Linked DNA regions of Homo sapiens: regions 1, 2 and 3 are each linked to region 4. Evidence: promoter capture Hi-C in 16 types of primary human blood cells and fetal thymus (Javierre and others, 2016). All regions are on one chromosome and are shown on one strand. The core of a region is centred on a gene start or on the middle of the fragment in contact, and the rest is flanking DNA. Distances in the headings are between cores, read along the strand shown.

The links. Contacts are between HindIII fragments. The CHiCAGO score rates a contact against its expected background, and 5 or more counts as called.
Region 1: a fragment that was not itself captured here is called in contact with the fragment with the promoter of PABPC1L in region 4 in 1 of 17 cell types (M2 macrophages); the score reaches 5.2 in M2 macrophages.
Region 2: a fragment that was not itself captured here is called in contact with the fragment with the promoter of PABPC1L in region 4 in 1 of 17 cell types (M2 macrophages); the score reaches 5.3 in M2 macrophages.
Region 3: a fragment that was not itself captured here is called in contact with the fragment with the promoter of PABPC1L in region 4 in 1 of 17 cell types (M2 macrophages); the score reaches 5.0 in M2 macrophages.

What each region holds. Positions count from the first base shown.
Region 1 is chr20:45,072,383-45,075,082 of GRCh38, reverse strand. STK4 (serine/threonine kinase 4) reads right to left here. Exons shown (of 11, transcript NM_006282.5): 11 at 1-65. Among named protein-coding and RNA genes, the nearest start is that of KCNS1, 27 kb to the left of the region's middle. The HindIII fragment of the contact is 2,300 bases long and covers 254-2,553 here.
Region 2 is chr20:45,089,391-45,092,090 of GRCh38, reverse strand. It overlaps KCNS1 (potassium voltage-gated channel modifier subfamily S member 1), which reads left to right. Exons shown (of 4, transcript NM_001322799.2): 4 at 1-877. Among named protein-coding and RNA genes, the nearest start is that of KCNS1, 10 kb to the left of the region's middle. The HindIII fragment of the contact is 4,256 bases long and covers 1-2,700 here.
Region 3 is chr20:45,050,013-45,052,779 of GRCh38, reverse strand. The region is part of intron 10 of STK4 (serine/threonine kinase 4); the gene reads right to left. Among named protein-coding and RNA genes, the nearest start is that of KCNS1, 50 kb to the left of the region's middle. RefSeq lists a silencer at 881-950. The HindIII fragment of the contact is 1,529 bases long and covers 539-2,067 here.
Region 4 is chr20:44,908,641-44,911,431 of GRCh38, reverse strand. PABPC1L (poly(A) binding protein cytoplasmic 1 like) reads right to left here and starts at 1,372. Exons shown (of 15, transcript NM_001372179.1): 1 at 1,096-1,372. The coding sequence starts at 1,288. RefSeq lists a silencer at 1,189-1,518. The HindIII fragment of the contact is 5,219 bases long and covers 1-1,820 here.

The DNA.
Region 1 (2,700 bases), core at 154-2,653, 160 kb before region 4:
TGCTCCATCATGGGGTCCAGGGCCAAGAGCCTCTTCTGAAGGTCCTCCACTGTCCAACTCTTAAGCTAGAAGAGAAGTGGAAGGTATAGTCACGACAAAGCTTAAGTCAGTGGCAGAACAGTGCAGAAGCCCAGCCTTCCCAGGCACCCAGAGGGAAGGGAGACAGGAGGAAGACACTGTGGTCAGATCACAGGTTGAGTGGTGGTGGTTGGAAAGTGACAATTCATTCCAAAGCATGGCATACCTTGAAGCTTGTCTGAGATAATTTATCCCTGGAAGAGATCTAAGTGCTAACCGCTTTGATTTAATGTGCCTTGACCAAGAACTTAGTGAATAATACTCTCACCTCCCCTATCTTTTAAGTTAATTAAATATAGATTCATTGTTAGGGCATTAAAATAACAGTAACTTGCTGTATGTGAAATAATGGTTGCCTCCCCGTTCTTGTTCTGTCTACGAGATAAGCGTCTATCTGGACAGCGCCTTTCCCACTTTCAGGATACGACACCATGGAGGATCGATGCTGATGAGGCGCAGATGCCATCCCCTAACCCTGCCTTCCCACACCCCCAATGTCTTGGCACTGCCCTATTATCATCACCAGCATTTACTTGAGGCTACTATATACCAGGTAACAGTCTAAGCCCCTTGGGAATACAGACGCAACCCTTGGCAGGGGTTGGGGTAAGGGTGGGTAGTTAGAAAAACCTCAAACTTCTGAGATTAAGTTTCTATCATCCAAAGAAAAACAATGAGTTGATATATAAATTAATAATAATGGCTGGCATTTAGTGTTTTCTATGCACCAGACACTGAGTGCTTTACATATATGGATTCCTTTAATCCTCAGAGCAACCCATGCTACAAGGACATTATTATCCCTATGTTACAGATGAACAGCCCAAGGAGGAGGGTAGCTAAGTAACCTGCCCAATGTCTCCCAACTAGTAAGTGGCAGAATCAAGACTCAAACCCAGGCAGCATGGCTCTAGAGTCTATGCTCTTAACCAGTGTTGCAGAACAGAAGACTAGCAAAGCACAGGTTTTAGAAGTAACTCAACCTTTGTTTAAAATGTGGTTCTGCCTGTTGCAGATGCCATGAGACTCTGTCAAGTTACCAATCTCTCCAGGCCTTCCCCATCTACAGAAGTCAGACAGCAGTGTCTCATCACATGTATTGTAAGAATTAAATAAGATCACGGCTGTAAAGTTCTCAGCACAGTACCTGCTGCACTGTGTGTGTAAAGATGGCAATGGGTGTTATAAGCCTCTCTCTTCATAAAAGCCCAGGGATACACCAGTGTTCAACCTGTGTCTGCAGCTATGGGGCAAGGGACTCTGCTGCCATGTGTGTTCAGTGATTCCAAGCCTGGCCAATATTGGCTGTCAGGGGTGGGAATGAATGCTGACATTATCCACAGTGGGTGGTGATACTTTATTCTGTGTGCTCACAACCAGTTTAATAGGTACAGTGTTTCAAGAACTCAAAGTCTTACAAGAGGTCTGTTGTGCCCACATTTAGAAAATCATGATCCTCGGCCCTTTCCTGAGGTCTCCACAGGAAAGTAGTATAGGAGCTGGGTAAAGGGCCCTCTGTCTGTCTACCCTTCCTTGAGTGGGTGGGGTGAGAGCAAGTGTGAAGTGCTACAGTGGCCTCCCTAGAAATGGCCTGTCACCACAGGAATTTTCCTTGGCCTGCTTCAGGGAGGGTGTCTGAGAAGTGAGAAAACCCTAATAGTTCAAGACGAAAGGTTCTTTGTAATGTGAGAATGGAAGACTTGAGAGTGTGGGTAAATGCTGGAAAGTCGGGCTGAAAAAAAAAATGCATCTTTCCAGCCTGTGGTTTTATACTACCTTAGAGGTTGGTGTTCTTGGCCCAAGGACACCCCTAATAGCAATGCTTGCCTAGTCTTTGGCATTTTCAATTCCTTCTGCAAAGAGAGAATTCCCCAAGCCTACTACTGAATGTAACTGGTAGTTAAGAATGTAATCTTTGGGATCACAGGTCCTAAATCTGTACTGGCTATGTAACCTTAAACAGTAATTTCACCTCTTGAGCCTCGGTTTCCTCCTTTGGAAAACAGACAATACTATTTTGTTCCTCCACCCTGGGGCGGTACTAAGACTTACATGAGATAATGGTCTGATGGTCTTAGCTCAGAACTTCATATAGTATGTGTTGGGCAGATAGTAAATATTCCACAAATGGATGTTATCACTGTTGTTATTGTTGCTATTGTTATTCTTATTATTATTGTACATATGATTGGTAAGTCTCTAATTAATCTTCCATAAATAAGCTGTTTCTGTAACCTCTAATTCAAGCTAGAATCAAACATGTGAAAAAGAAAATATTCTACTCTATTTCATGCTAATGCCTAAGGGCTGGTACATAATACCTGTTAACTTATGTACAGTTTAACAAAATATTTTTCACCCATCCATTTATAAATACTCATTGAACACCTACTATGGGTCAGGTGCTATTCGAGGCACATAGGCTACTTTAATGAAAACAAACAAACAAACAAAAAGCAGTGCCCTTGTGAAGCTTACATTTTAATGAAGCAAGGAAAATAGCAATAAACACAGTAAATTAGTAAATTATTTTTATATTAGAAGGTGCTCTGGAAAAAAGAAAATAAAAAATAGTGTGAAAGAAGGGGAGCTGGGAATTAGGAGGGTAGACTTGCTTTTCAT
Region 2 (2,700 bases), core at 4-2,503, 180 kb before region 4:
AGTGATGAATGACTGTTAACAATTAGAGTTTGAGGGTATAAGCAACAAACTGACATCAAGCAAAAAATGAATTTATTGGAAGATATATTAGTTTCCAGCAGCTGCTGTAACAAATTCAAACAAACTTGATGGCTTAAAACAGTAGAAGTGTATTCTCTGACAGTTCTGGAGGCCAGAAATCCAAAATCAAGATGTCAGCAGGGCCACCCTCCCTCTGGAGACTCCAGGGGGAAACCCTCTCCTTTTCTCTTCTAGTTTGTGGTGGCTGCCACCATTCTTGGCTTTCCTTGGCTGTGGCTGCATCACTCAAGTCTCTGCCTCTGATCTCACTTCAGTGTCTGTGTATGTCAAGTCTTCCAGTGCCTCTGTCTTACAAGGACACTTTTGATGACATTTAGGCCCACCAGGATAATCCAAGATGACCTCATCTCAGGATCCTTAACTTAACCACATTTGCAAAAAGACCCTTTCCCAAATAAGGTAATAGTTACGGGTTCCAGAGATTAAAATATGGACAGGTGTTTGGGGCCACCATCTGGCCCACTACAGAAGGGTATCTGTGAAATTCACCCGACCAAAGGAAGAGCTGACTGACGAGGCCTCAGGAAATACAGGAATGAGGGGAGCTCTAGGGACCTCAGTAGCAAGACTCATGAACCTTCTGTTTAAGACACTGCTACCCACATGATCTGCCTCCAGTCAACTTCCTTCCCTGTATCATCCTGCTCACAGTTCCAATCCCAGGAGAGAGTCTGATTTCACTTGAGTCATATGCCTCTCTCTTGGGAGGGATGGAGGGCAAGGTACCGTATTAGTATTTGCGGCAGTTGGAGGAAAGGTACTTACCCAAATAAAAGACCACCTATTGTCACCAAAAGAAAGGCAAAAGTTATTGATAAGCAAAAATAGCATACCATACACTCCCATCCTTTTCCCATACACACGATTTATGCATGTTTCTAACATAAGGAAACTCTCTTATATATAACCAACATATACCGATCTCCCCAAAGGAAAGACACCCTATGGGGCATATCCTGTTCATGAATCCAGCTATAAGTTCATTCTTCCACTGGTACCACTAATTCTGTCTCAATATCCTGTAATATAAGGAATAAATGGTAAATGTAACTGCCACCAGCATACCCTATATGATACTAGAGGAAAGGAAAAGAAAAACACAGCAAGGAGGAAAAGAGGCCATTGCTATGTCTTCATTTCTGTAATGGTCATAAGGCTGCTGCTGGCATTTATAACATCCCTTCTCTGTGAGCCATGTCATGCCCCCTGCCTTTGGCCAGCACTTTAGTTGGTTGGGATTCTTTTTTTGATGGGGTAACCTAAACCTTTATTCCTAGCGAATCTGAGCACTTGTTAGTCCTGCTGGCATGTGAAGATTCCCCAAGGAATTCCATGGAGTTACTTGCATTCCTTTCTGCCTACTTTGTGTAGCAGTAACCATATTTCCCCTTGACAGGGTGGTTGATTACCCTAATCAAGACTGTAACTCCCTTTATACACACATAGGGAAAAGAAAAGCTCCGAAAGTCCAGGTGACAGGCTCAGTCTCCGATTCAGGGTATTCTTCCTTGAGTACCAAAGAAGTATTCTTCCCTTGGGTACCAAAATCTCTTAAGTCAGCAGAGCTCAGAGTCATAGGATAGGAAGCAATAGATTTGCAAGTGGGTCATTGGGTTTAATCAGAAAACATGCAACTTGATTGAAAGCAAACTTCTCATGCAATCAACTTACATCATTAGGGTCTACGTGAGCCAAATCCCATGTACCCATGGATACACTTGATGATGGAGTCCTTACTAGGCATGCTTGACTTTCTATCTGGATGGATGATATCGTAGTTTGTCACGTTGGGTCATCAGATTACCTGATATCCCATAGTTAGGCCTTCATTCACCATCAAAGCCCAGTAGCAAGCCAGGATCTGATAGCGGTAGAAGCAACAAAATCCAAATTAACACTGTACTTCTTTTGTGGTGATAGAAGTACTACACATATGTCCAGGGTACTGGACACTCTAAGAAACTTCACTGAGATGCACTGGATTTATCTCCCACCTTGTAAAAGGTGTGTCTTACCTACAGAGCTGAAGTGTCTGCTCCTTTGTGCTCTCCAGGCCCTGTTAATGTGATTTAGTCAACTGATTTAGTCAAAATTAGTTTGCTGTCTTTTAGAATAGGGATATTCGGGGAATCAAGGCCTTCCTGTTACAGAGCTGGAGAACAGAGGTATGCCTGAGTTAGAACAGTAAATGAAAACTCTTATCCCTTCTAGGTAATAGCAAAATGCTTCCAGTGGTTTCTGTTCCTCAGAGTAGAGAGTGAAACTAGTAGATGCATGACTCCAGGGACTGTAATGATGAGCATATATCTAACACAACAGTTAAAAATGGAATTATCACCTGACTAAAGTAATCCACTGTCATTTTCCAAGACCCATCTAATTTTGCACCTACCAGAGGAAATTAATGGTGTTTTGATTGGAGTCATCAGCCTGCAAGGTCTTTGGTAGAAACACTAATCTCTGCAGCCTCCCCTAAAGATATGTTACTATCGTTGACTTTTCTATTTTGAAACAGTTGTTCAGTTGTATTCTATTGGCCTTTTATATCACAATGGCCCTCACTTCATGGGTCAGAGAGCCAATATGGGGATCTTTTCCAACTATCTCTCCGAAACTGCT
Region 3 (2,767 bases), core at 54-2,553, 140 kb before region 4:
GAAACTCATCAGAAAAAGTTTAAAAAGCAGAGCATGGAGATTGTCCAGAAAGGTGGTGGCAAGAGTCTGAGAGCGCAGGTGCTGATGGTTAAAACCCCAGCTTAATTCACACACTCAACAGGCAAAAAAATGCAACAATAAAAACAATCACAAAGACTCAATCCCCAAACCTCCTGTTGACAAGAAAAAAGCCTGGCTTAATATATTAGAACGACCTGAAAACAACCCAACTCCAACCAAAAAAGCCCCAAATGTTAAATGCCAAGTAAAAAGAGGATGATTAAATCAATCAAAAGAATGTAATGTGATGGGCTACTATGTGACCCTTAAAAATGATTTCACAAGTGTTTTTAATGATATGAGAAAATGTTTAAGATATGTTAAGTGAAAAAAAATCAAGATTTATTATGCATGCAGAATGATCTCAGCTGTGTAAAATAATATCTAAGTATTAAAAAACTGGAAGGAAATGTTAAAATGTAATTATTATTGCTGGGGGGGGTGGAAGAGTTGTAAGAGACATTTTCTTCTTTAAGCTTTTCTTCAGTCTCTAAACTTTCTATAATGAGTGTGTTTTTACAACTAGAAGGTTAACAAAATAGCATTGTAACATTATAGAAGAGCAAACCAACACCAAAAAAGAAGAAAATAATAACATTTATTAAGTGCTTATTGCAGGCCAGCAGTAAGGACCATTGTCCTAAAGGTGCTTTACGTGCATTACAGGTTTAGTATCCCTTATCCAAGATGCCTGGGACCAGAAGTGTTTTGGATTTTGGATTTTTGGATTTGGGATTACGCAACCTGCATCTCATTTGATACTCACGACAGCCCTATGAAAGAGGTATGACTTTACCATGTTTGACAGATAAGACAATCAAGGGTTAGACAGGTGGCATAATAGGTGGAGAAGATAGGCTATGAGCCCTAACAGAATAACTCCAGTGGTTTTAACCACTATATGCCTCTCAACCACAATGGCATAATCTGTCTCCCTGCCTGCAAGCCTGACCTAAACATAAGCCTCAATGACAAAATCTACTTTAGAAGGCACTATAATAATTTAGGATAGTGTGACTGCCAAGGTACTAAGATACTCAGATAAATATTCAAAAGAGGAACTAAAACACCTCTAATGAAGCTATAAAAAGAATCCATGTGATAGAGCAATGCATCGCTGCAGTTGAAAACATACCAGCACAACAAATCAACCCACAGCTAAATCCCACTATACAAGAGAAGCTAGTAATAACTGTCAAAGAAAGACCCCTGGTAACCACTTATTGAACTACCATGAAAAAAGGAACTCACTAAAAGATACAATAACAATGAGCTAGACAGTAAGGATTTGAATTTGTCTCCCAAAAAGCCCCCTAGCAACAAGAGGCCTGGACCATCAAAGGCTAGAGAAAAGAAAGAAACTAAAGAGAAAAATAAAAAGCATTGTACTTGATGCCAAATTATATAAAATACAACCAGCACAGAAGGACCACCTTACTTTTCTTTCAGTCTAGCACTAAAGGCCTTTTGGTTAGAAACAATCAATTTTGCTTGGCAAAAAAAGGATCAAGACATAGAAGTACTTTGGATCAAATTCTGTAGAATCAGCCTATTTGAGATGCATTAAGGTTAATGCCAAAACCAATACGGTGTTCTGTTCACAGTTTCTTTCTAGAGGTTTTAAAAGCCGAAAAACATTAAAACTCAGAGTTTGAAGTGGAAAGTTTCTATCTGTAAAAACAAGCCACTTTTAGGTACTATAAGCTATTAAGATTTGGTAATTCTAAATTAATTATGTATTTTTTAAACCCTTGGTTGTTAGAAAAATATAAAGCTCGATTGCTACCTTACTCTTAACACCAAGACAAATACATGATAGATTAAATATTGAGAAAGAAAAAATAATAAAACATTCTAAAACAAAGTAAGGGTTAATATTTTTGTAATCTTAGAATGTGAAAAACTTTCCCAAAGATGACATAAAATTCCAGAAACCACAAGAAAAAGCTAATAAATCAAAATATATAAAAATTTAAATGTCTGAAGTTAGATACCATATACAAAGCTTTAAAAGATATTCTAGCAGAATATCTTTACCACATATGTTAAAAGGTTCATAACCTGACTTGATAGCTGAAGAAGTCTTTAAAATCAATAAAGAAAATAAGAATTCCATGGAAAATTCAGTAAATAATATAAAGCAACAATTCACATACCAAAAACGATAGGGAAATTTAACAATATGTATCAAAATTTCAAATTTGTGAACAGTTTGACCCAATAATTCTACTGCAGGAATTAATTCTAAGGGCGTACCATGCAAAGATGTTATTAAAGCAATATTTATTAATATTAAAAAGCTGAAGGCTACCTAAATGACCATCAGCTGGAGACTGGTTAAATCAGAGATCACAAACACAAATGTTTTGAGAGACTGGCAAAGACAACAGAAATAAACTCAACAGTCTGCTCATAAAACAAAAACAGGAAGTGATGGGGTCTGTGAAGAGCTGGAGAACTCAGACCCATTTCAGTAGTTCAAAGTATAAAAATTACATGTGCCACAGGCCAAACTGGCTCCCCCTTTCCCAGTCCCCACACACCCCCAGAGTGAGATGTGTAATCTGTAGCCATGGCACGAGCACTGCTGACTGTTCTCTCTGCAGCCAGCCTAGGAAGATCCCCTTACTCTGAATGCTCGTCTGTTCTATCACATTTGAGTAGATACAAAGGAGCTCATTGATGTGGCCAAACGGATTCTCAGGAT
Region 4 (2,791 bases), core at 123-2,622:
AGTGCAATGGCGCAGTCTCGGCTCACTGCAACCTCTGCCTCCCGGATTCAAGCGATTCTCGTGCCTCAGCCTCCCCAGCAGTTGGGATTACAGGCGTCCGCCATCATGCCCAGCTATTTTTTGTATTTTTAGTAGAGAAAGGGTTTCGCTATGTTGGCCAGGCTGGTCTCGAACTCCTGACCTCAAGTGATCTGCCCACCTCGGCCTCCTAAGATGCTGGGATTACAGGCGTGAGCCACTGCGCCTGGCCTTATTTATTTATTTATTTATTTATTTATTTATTTATTTATTTATTTTAGGTTACCACTTAAGAGCGTTTACGAGGTAACAAGCAGTTACCATTCTTTATGCATAGACAGCAGTTCTCCATTCTTTATGTTATTGGAGAATACGCCTTAGCCCCATTTTGCAGATGAAAAGGTGCAGAGCGTGAAGGCTTGCCCAAGCTCACTCATCCTCTCCACTCTCAACAGAAGTGCAGGCAAACTCATCGGACAAGCTCTAATCAATGCTATCAGCTCTGAGAAAGCGGCCTTGCGGCCTGGAGGCAGCGGTTTTTCAGAGCCCGTGCAGGTAGAGGCGCCCAGTGTGGATCTCACGTCGCGCTGGGAAAGGCCTGAGCCCAAGGCTGGGTTCTCCTGCCTCCCCTGCTCACCAGCTGTGTTGCCTTGGGCATCTTCCTCACCAGGTGCTTTGAATCTCTCATCCTCACAAGCACTCTATAAGGCAGCTAGGACCCCCATTTTCCAGACACGCATCTGAAGCTCAGAATGGTCGAGTAACTTGCCCAGAGTCACACGGCTGCTGGGCTTCTATCCCTGGTCCGCCTGACCCCCACCCCCACCCCCACAAAGCCTGTATCTGTTTTCACTCGACCCTAATCTCTCTCCTCTGTAGAGGAATAGCAGTAAACCACACTAATTACCAATTCCCGTCTCAGGGGCCAGGCCTCTGCCAACGCCCTGTTATCTTTGAGCCTCAGTTTCCCCGGCTGCAAAGTGTAAGATGAAAGCGCAAGCGGCCCAGTTCCGGCTTCTGTCTGTCCGCCTGCTTGTCCGTCGGTCCTTCCCCTCCCGCCCCATCCCCGGGGCTCACCGTCCGCGGGCTGCTGGAAGTTGATGTAGGCGTAGCCCAGCGAGCGCCGGGTGGCTACATCGCGGCACACGCGGATGGACAGGATGGGGCCGGCGGGAGAGAACTTCTCATAGAGCATGGCCTCGGTCACGTCGGGGTGCAGATCGCCCACGTAAAGCGAGGCAAGCGGGTAGCCAGAACCGCTGGCGTTCATGGTGGGCAGGGGGCCGGGGCTGCGGGGCAAGCAGGAGCCGGGTCACCCAGCAGCCCCGCGCTCACCCGGGCGGAAGCCCTCCTTCCTGGGCGCGGGCCCGCCCCTTCCCTTTACCGCCCCCGCGTCCCTGCGCACCAATCGTGGGCGCGCTCGGACGCCCCTCCCCCGGGATCCCTCCTGGGCCCACCCCCCACCTGCGAGCACTTGGGGATCTAAAAGCTACAGGTGGGGACACCTCTGACCCCGCCCTGGGAGGCGGAAAAAGCCTTCAACCTGGCCTTGAGCAGGGCTGCTGGGACTTGAGTGGAGCTCTCAAAACCCCCAGCTCTTTTGAAAGAGCCGAGGACTGGGACGGAAAGGACGCAGGGGACTGAGTTCTAACCCCGGAACAGATGATCATCTTTCTGAACCCGTTTCCCTTCTCTGTAAAATGGGAATGATTCCCTCCTGACAAGAATGAAAGGAGACCCAAACCGCGCTTTTTGCGTTTCACACACAAACGGAATTCCGAACAGGCCACTGTTTCAAAGCTTGTGTAGAGAATTTTACCCTGCTCCATTGAAGATGTCTTCCTCCAGAGAGCCTGATCCAGTCCCACCGTTTCGCACCAAGGATGGAAATGGCTTTGAGACATGAGAACTGGAGACCACTAAGGCCTTTCTTGGTACTGGCTCATATTACCAAGACCCCTTTTCCTGGGATATTCCCTGTCCCTCTGCTAAGCCATTACACATCCATTACACCAGGGAGGTTCACTGAGTTACTTGTGGCTCAGCCTAAATGCGGACAATTGGGAACTAATAGCAGAGCAAGACCTAAACAGAGCAAGACTGTGAATCTGAGCTTGCAGCGTCAATCTGTGGTATAGGGACATTAAAAACAACACAAAAACAAAACAACTACTCCACTGAGCACCAATACTTCACTTTTCCTCTGATAGGACTTTCCTGGTCTCACTGATCCAACAGAGCAGGTAGGCCCCCACTGACTTTTGGTTGAGTGTGGCTTCAACAGGTGGAACAGCTCCTAAACTAGGGACAGAAGGTGCCCATCTGGCTGTCCAGCCTCAGAGTAGCAAGGAAGCACTAATTCTAATCTTGGGCTAAAAAAGACCCCTCTATCCTGATATTTTTCTCTCCTTGTGGTAATGTGGATGTTTTCAGAAGGGGCAAATCCTGTGAGGAACCAGCTCTGCAGGCCACCATACAGTGTGAGGACAGGTGAGACGCCAGCTTGGTGATGACCAAGACTTATGCAACCATAGGTTACCTATTTCACTGGCTTGGTTGTATCTCAGAGTTAAAAAATGGGGAAGGGATGGTGGGCTCGAATACAATGCAAAATAACTGTCCATACCAAATCTTAGAAGTCACTAAAGAGGACCTAATACCTGCATGGTTTGTTGTGGAAGGTAGAGAGGTATCAAGTAACGGGTGTAAAGAGGCTGTTTAATTAATGGTAATTTCTTCCCCTGGATAACACCTTGACTTCTGGTCCTAAATA